2 separate regions of the Homo sapiens genome follow, and region 1 is linked to region 2. Evidence: promoter capture Hi-C in human tissues and cell types (Jung and others, 2019). All regions are on one chromosome and are shown on one strand. The core of a region is centred on a gene start or on the middle of the fragment in contact, and the rest is flanking DNA. Distances in the headings are between cores, read along the strand shown.

What was found. The method cuts DNA at HindIII sites, captures the fragments that hold promoters and counts their contacts. A contact is called where the count stands out against the background at its distance.
Region 1: a contact is called between a fragment that was not itself captured here and the fragment with the promoter of HNRNPM in region 2, in 1 of the 25 tissues and cell types used here (psoas muscle).

What each region holds. Positions count from the first base shown.
Region 1 is chr19:8,593,906-8,597,766 of GRCh38, forward strand. It overlaps ADAMTS10 (ADAM metallopeptidase with thrombospondin type 1 motif 10), which reads right to left. Exons shown (of 26, transcript NM_030957.4): 7 at 3,329-3,412; 8 at 3,082-3,227; 9 at 2,637-2,680; 10 at 2,402-2,507; 11 at 2,168-2,314; 12 at 1,857-1,998. Among named protein-coding and RNA genes, the nearest start is that of ADAMTS10, 15 kb to the right of the region's middle. The HindIII fragment of the contact is 8,071 bases long and covers 1-3,861 here.
Region 2 is chr19:8,443,641-8,447,516 of GRCh38, forward strand. HNRNPM (heterogeneous nuclear ribonucleoprotein M) reads left to right here and starts at 1,335. Exons shown (of 16, transcript NM_005968.5): 1 at 1,335-1,471. The coding sequence starts at 1,359. RefSeq lists silencers at 1,094-1,373, 1,614-1,843. The HindIII fragment of the contact is 5,541 bases long and covers 1-3,657 here.

The sequences.
Region 1 (3,861 bases), core at 1,021-3,520, 150 kb after region 2:
GGAAAGGACCCTTCCTAGGTCAGCCCCTGAGAGATACCTGTACATATGTAAGAAGCTGGAAGAGTTGTTCTCAAATACATTCTCCCTCAAAGGTCCTCTAGAATCTCTGCCTTCTGCCTTATAGAGGACATTTCTCAGCTAAAAACTCAGACTGTGTCCTCTTGGCCATATCTAAAAATATCACATCAGTCCTGTCGCAATCCCACTTCTGACACCTCTTCAAGATAATGATTTCAGCTCTGCTTTTGTCCTCCTCTCCACAAGGAGGCACTGTGGCATATTTGAGTTGTGCAGAGACCTCAATTCTGCTACCAACTTGCAATATATTTCCCCTCTCTGGGCCTCAGTTTACTCATCTACAAGATGGGCAGCCTAATGCCTGTCTTGCCTATATAAATGGCTATGAGGCACGTGACAGGATAGATAAGAAAGGACTTGCACCAATGCCATTATGGGGTAACAATGACCACCACTATCTCTGGACCAGGCACCAGGCTGAACCCTTTACATATATTAACCAGTTCACATTTAGTAAATAAATCCCCCTTTGCCAAGATGGCCTGAAAGATGTTCCTTCAAAAACTAAAAGGAAGGCTCAATTCAACATATAGCCAGTGCCAGCCCAAGCTTGATATTTTGACAGCTCCTCCCCTCCCCTGCCCCTTTGTAAAATTTAGAGAGTCATGAGAGACCTGGATTTAAATCCCAGCTCTGTCATGGTCTCAAACTGTGGCCTTGGACAAGTCATCCTCCCTATGCTATGGCTCAGTCCCTTCCTCTGTAACGTGGGGGCTAGCAGGATTGTCAGGAGTTTAGATGGTGACACACAGCACATGCTTAGCCCATAGTGAGAGCTCAGTAAATGTCAGACACCATGATCATTGTTAGGATACCTGGGTCACAGCAGATGTTGAGGAGTAGCTTCAGAATTCTTTAGGAATTCCTTAGAGGGTGCTGCAGTTACCAGCTAAGTTAGGATGTTGGGGGGTGTCAAGGGTGGAATGTCAGTGAAATAGAAATTGTTCCAGGGTTTGTCTCTGTCTTGCAGTGGAATGAAGGGAGGGCAATTTGGCAGCTGCTTGCCCTCTGCTTTGCATTAACATGGCATCACAAAAACTCTGATCGTTTGAGTTGTGATAGTGTGAAGAACTGGGGCTGAACCTGGGCCCCTAGGGCTGAGACTGTGAGGAGCTTAGGGGTGCATTTAGGGAATCGAGGCAGGTGGGCAGAGGAGGAGCAGATCCTGGCTGAACCTTGGTGGCTGAAGCAGGAAGCCAGCAGGTCTTCAGCTTCCTGGGGGGAGCTGGGAGTGGAACCTCCTGCCCCCCAATGCCCTTCTCTATGCACGAATGGGGCTTTGGGAATCTAAACCTCAGGAAAGGGTGGGGAGAGGTCAGGAGGCTCAGAGCTCCTCCAGACAGGGAGTCCCTGGAAGGTTCTGTCTAGTTCTTTGCCAAGTAGGAAAGATGGCTCATCCCCAGGGAAATTATTTCCGTCAGGACTGGATGTTTAGTTAAAAACTGCCCCGTGAGAGGTCTTGAGACTTTGATCCTGCTGTAGCCCACAGGGGGTGTGATGTGCCAGACAGAAGCTGGCCCCCCAGCCCAGCCCTCAAATCAGGGGTCTGGAGAAGCAGGTGATCCCATTTTTGTTCCCAAGCACTGTCTGATTGCTTAGGACATTTTGCACACTCCATGCACCTCTGTCCTCCCAGGTCACCATGGGGGCTCACCTCACCCCCCTTCCCGGTTCTCCCACCCCCTCACTTCCCAGGTGGGTGCCCTGGTGGAGTTCCCTCCCCCAGCCCCAGCGGCCCCCTCCCCTCCCAGGAAGGAAAGCAGGAAGACTCTCTCTACCCCGTATTTACACTGACGCGATTTGACTCCATGCTGAAAGCGGCATTGCTCATCTGCATCGTAGGCTTGGCCCGGTGCCACTGTCGGGTACACAAAGTCCTGTCTGGGGGGCCGGTTGTTCAGGCAGAGCCCCAGGCCCGAGCTGCCTCGAGAGAAAAGCAACTGTCATGCTAGGTGGCTGCAAATCAAGAGCTCAGGAGCCTCAGCTGGATGGGGGTCCCAGGGAGCATCCCTGATTTCTATCGTCTCCCGTGTACCCTGCCCCACCATGAGTGTGACCCGCTCTGAGGGACACCCAGGTGCATCCTCACTCTAGAAAGCTGGTGATGTAGTCACGGCTGCAGGATGACCACACGAATGGGTTGGTCTTCATGGTAATGTGGGCAGCCATGAGCTTGGCTGGGTCCTGACCACGGGCCCCACAGCTGTTTCCCACGCCGTCATGGTTCATGCCGAATCTGGGGAAAGGGGTGTCGGCTCTGCCGGGCGCTGAGGGACCCGCCCAGCTCCTCCCCTCCTCCCCCTCTTGTGTGCCCTGGCCTCACGTGTGCCCGATCTCGTGGGCAATGGTGAACGCTGTGGCCAGGCCAATGTCCTCATTGACGCTGCAGCTTCTCTCGCGCTCACACATTCCGCCCACCGGGGCCAGGCCTGGGAAGACGGACATGTGGGGATGGGGCTGGGAGGCTCAGGACGGTGCTGGCTGGCCCCATCCACCTGCCAGGTCTCACCCCAGCCCACTGCCTTCATAGGCGCCTGAAACCTACGGGGCTCGGGTACCTAGTGTGCCGCAGGGTTTGTTCTTGTAGATGCAGATGTCATAGCTGTAAAAGGAGACAGGGTCAGTGAGGGGGCTGGGCTGTCTCCCTAAGCCCTGCTGATGCCACCATGCCCAGCTCTGGGGGTTGAGTCCTGCCTTGGAGGCGCCATCTGCCTCTCACCTGAAGCTGCATACAGGAGTGACTGACCACATGAATGAATGAATGCATGCATGCATGCATGAGTGGGAGAATAAGTGAATGAGGGCATCGGTGCCCAAATGGTCCCAAACCTCCCTTACCCATTATTCTCAAGCAGCCCCTCCCCATCCCTGGCTCCCTCATGGGCAGCCCAAACTTCTCTGCTCCTCCTGACCCTAGCAGAAGTGATCTCTGTTTGGACTCTCATGGTTCCCTGGACCATCTGTTTTCTCAGCCCCAGTCCTAGACCTCTCCTGTCCCCTCACCGTGTGATGAGCACTGCTGTGTCATGGTTAGCCACACCGTTCTCTGGAATGGCATTGCCATGGCCGCTGTGGTTCACGATGGATTTCTGCCACTTACAGAAGCTGTCCAGGGACTTCCCGGCATGGTGGGTGATCTCCAGAGTGGGCTGGGGATGGACAGAGGGAAATGCATGGGCACCCACCACCCAGGGGACGGCAGGACATGCTGGTATGAAGGGGAAGGGGAAGGGGAGGAAGTCCCCCGCACCTGGTCCTCCGTGAGCAGGATGAGGCGAGTTACGAGGATGTTAACGGTGCTTCCCAGACTCGAGTCCTGGAAAAGTTTGGCAACCTGACCTCCAAGAAACAAGAGAGACCGAGTCTTAAGAGGAGCCCAGGGTAGAAAATGAAAAGCAAAAACAATGATAACAGCTTGCTTTCATCAGGCACCTACTGTGTGTCGGGTCTTAGGCTAAACCTGCTATTAGGGTTTTTTGTTGCTGTTGTTGTTAAAGATGGGGGTCTTGGTATGTTGCTCAGGCTGGTCTTGAACTCCTGACCTCAAGTGATCCTCCTGCCTGGCCTCCCATAGGGCTGGGATTACAGGTGTGAGCCACCATGCCCAGCCATGTATCAGTCTTTTCATGAATAGGTAATATTTGCTGTTGTTACTATTTGTTGTTGTTGTTTTTTGAGATGGAGTCTCGCTCTGTTGCCCAGGCTGCAGTGCTGCGGTGCAATCTCAGCTCACTGTAACCTCCACTTCCCAGGTTCAAATGATTCTACTGCTTCAGCCTCCCA
Region 2 (3,876 bases), core at 85-2,584:
TTTATTATTATTTTTAATTTTTTTGAGATGGGGTCTCACTCTGTGACCAGGCTGGAGTGCAGTGGCCCGATCTTGGCTCACTGCAACCTCCTCCTCCTGGGTTGAAGCGATTCTCCTGCCTCAGGCTCCCCAGTAGCTGGGATTATGGGCGCCTGCCACCACACCCGGCTAATTTTTGTATTTTTAGTAGAGACAGGGTTTCATCATGTTGGCCAGGATGGTCTGATCTCTTGACCTCGTGATCCACCCGCCTTGGCCTCTCAAAGTGGTAGGATTACAGGCGTGAGCTGCCGCGCCCAGCCATTAATTTTTTTTTTAATTTTGTTTTTAACTTTTAGGTTTGGGGGTAAATGTGAAGGTTTGTTAAATAGGTAAACACTTGTCATGGAGGTTTGTTGTACAGATTATTTCATCACCCAGGTATTAAGCCCAGTACTCAATACTTATCTTTTTGTTTTTTGAGATGGAGTCTCAGTCTATCTCCCAGGCTGCGGTGCAGTGGCGTGATCTCGGCTCACTGCAACCTCCGGCTCCTGGGTTCAAGCGATTCTCCTGCTTCAGCCTCCCGAGTAGCTGGGATTACAGGCGCCCGCCACCACGTCCAGCTAATTTTTTTATTTTTAGTAGAGACGCGGTTTCACCATGTTGGCCAGTCTGGTCTCGAACTCCTGACCTCAGGTGATCCGCCGCCTCGGCCTCCCATACCCAAAGTGCTGGGATTACAGGAGTGAGCCATCGCGCCTGGCCCCATTATTAGTGAATTTTAACAGTTTTCCGTTTCTTCTGGACGAACTGTTTGCAATTATAATGCGAATTACGGATAATACTCTGATATTATTCCATGCCGTTCCGTTGTTGCCTACAAAGTTCGCGCTGGAGAACCGCGCAATTGCGTTACAAAAAGAAAAAAATCACACAAAAAGACACAATGTTTTAAGAAAGTTTACGAATCGTGTGCCGGACCGCGGGTTGAACAAGCTTCATCTAAAACTTCCAGGAATCTCTAGACAGGATCATTGCTTCCCCTCTGCTCCAGCTCTGGTTACAGAAAGCTGAGAGTGACTAGGTCTAGGTGTTTGTGTGGGGTGGGGTGGGGAGATGCCTCCTCTATCGGACTCAGAGGACGCGCGCCGGGAACAGCCAGTCGGTGCCTAACGCGAGTGTATCTCGAGAGAGAAGCGATCAACAGCTGCCGGTCTGCGCCTGCGCGCGGCGGGGGCGTGGCCCGGGGCGAGTGGGGCCAAGGAGGCAGCCGGGAGCGGCGGGCGCAGGTGTTACTGGTTGCGTCGGGTCACGTGGGCGCGCAGGCGCAGCGCGGTGCAGCCCGTTCGCTCACACAAAGCCCAGACGCGGAGAAAATGGCGGCAGGGGTCGAAGCGGCGGCGGAGGTGGCGGCGACGGAGATCAAAATGGAGGAAGAGAGCGGCGCGCCCGGCGTGCCGAGCGGCAACGGGGCTCCGGGCCCTAAGGGGTGAGTATCCCACGGTCCTTTGCCACGGGTAAGGGTTCCTCTCCGCGGCCGACGCGGGCGGCGGCTCCGTTAGGTCTGTTGGCGGCCTAGCCCCGGCGCGGCCTCGGCCCCGGCTGTTCCCGTACCGCCTGCTCAGGGTAGCGGCGTCTAGGGCCGTGAGCGGGGAGCCGGGGGAGCCTCCAGAATCGTCCCCTACACCGGGCCTCGAGCCTCGCCACCCTCAGTCCCTCCAGGCCGGGGCCAACCCCGTAGTCGAGGCCTCAGGCCCAGCTGCTGCGCATGGGGGTTGATGGCGCGGGCCCGGACCGGAGAGCCTCCGAGGCCTACCCGACCGCTCCCCGGGAGGGTGACCTCGGGGGCCGGGTTTCAGCCCCCCGTCCCCTCTCCTCCCGGGGTCTGTTTTCTGATCCGTAACGTGGGGGGAGGAGAGAGGGTGCGCGCCCGGGAGGCCTCGCGCGCAGTCAGCCCGAGTCAACGGTAACCGAGCGAGGGAAGCGTCAGGAAGGGCCGCGAAGCCGGGTCGGGGGGCTCCCCTCCTGCCCCGCCCCTTAGTCCCCGCGCGCCGACCGCGCTCCGCGGGAAGTGCCTCCCTCGGAACCGCCCCTCGCCCCACGCTCTGGCCCTGGCTCAAGTCCCTCGCCGTTTCCCGCTCCTCCTCCCCGGGTGCGCCGCAGGTATTAGTGGAGAGATGGGATCTGCTGCTTAGCGTTCACCCTCGGAAGCAGACAGATACGAAGTCGGGGGAGGAATCCCCTTTTTCCCGTGTTTCGGGGAAGCTGTTCTGTCAGGAGGCGGGTTCATTTACTTCCAGACTTCATCAGCTTTTCGAGTCCTGCTTGGGGCTCTTTGACTCCTTGGCTTTTAAAAGTTTCTTTAAAGGAGGAAGCATCGACTTGTGCCCCGGTGAAACTCATTCATTCTGATTACAGACACTTAAGAGAGACAGAGAGGTTTTGGCTCCAAGATCAGCGGCCGGGAAGGAAGGGGAAGCCTGGGTACACATTGAATTTCCCAGACATTTATTTCATTGTGGTAAAATAGACATAACGTAGACTTTGCCATTTTAACCATTTTTTAAGCGTATAATTCAGTGGCATTGAGTATACTGACTCAGTGTGCTGTAACCGTCACTGCTTCATGTCCAGAACTTTTTCATCATCGGAAACAGAAAGTGTAGCTATTAAATACTAACTCCCTCCGTTTTCTTTCCTTTCTGTCTGTGACTTTGCCTTCCTCATATTGTAATGTGTGAAGCTTAGTTTATGGAGATTAAAAGTGAATGCGGTTGAGCACTTATATATTTAATTTTTTTCTTTGAGACAGGGTCTCCCTCTGTTACCCAAGCTGGGATGCAGTGGCACGATCACAGATCACTGCAGCCTCGAACTCCTGGGCTCAATCGATCCTTCCATCTCAGCCTCCTGAGTAGCTGGGATCACAGGCGCGGCACCACCATGCCCGGCTAATTTTTTGAAGAGAGGAGGTCTCCGGGTGTTGCCCAGGCTGGTCTGAAACTCCTGGGTTCAAGCCATCCTCCTGCCTAGGCCTTCCAAAGTGCTGAAGTTACAGGCATGAGCTACTGCGCCCTGCCTAGTTGAGCGCTTAGGTTAAGAACGTTCCCTAAGTGCTAGCTATATTGGTAGATAATAAATCCGGAGAAAATTCCAGATTCTTTCCCTCCTTAAGTAGGGAGAAATAAAATACCATGGTTACTGGCCCTTAGAAATGAGAAAAACTTCCTCTATTCCCAGCATTTTACTATTGAAAACTCTGGGAAGGAATGTGTTAATTTTGACTTTTTCAGCGTCTATCTACGGAAGCTGGTAGGATTTCTGAGGGTGGTATTTGGAGGGCTTTAAGATAAATTTATTTACCGTATGCAGGAAGGAGTGCTGGTAGAACCTTGCTAGATGATAGGGTAAATTAATAGATTACAAATTTTCCCTTTTCCCCTGTCCATTTTCAAATAGTCATTTTGTGACTGAGTCATTTTACAAATACATGTGGACTGTTGGAACCTGAAAATTGTAGAATAAAATAGCCGTTGTGAGAAAGAGGCTCAAAGTCTCAAAGTCTAGTACTAGCTTCATAGAGGATAGTTTAGGAAGCTGGCAACACTTGGATATTTTTGATAGGGCCTGTGGAAAACTTTTTTTTTTTTTTTTCATTACAAGTCTTAAGGAAATCTCTTTAGAAGCCTATACTTTTGCACTCCATGCAGAGTGGAGAGGCCATTAACATATTTGTATGTTATGTATGTTATGTAATTACCATAACATAAGGTAATTATGCTGTGATAGAAGTTAGTGGAGTTGCTTGGTAGAAAGAATGGAGGAGGTGACCTCCGCCACCTGCTGGGGGCAGGGACCTGTTCCTCCATGACAGGAAGACGTGTGGAAGTGGAG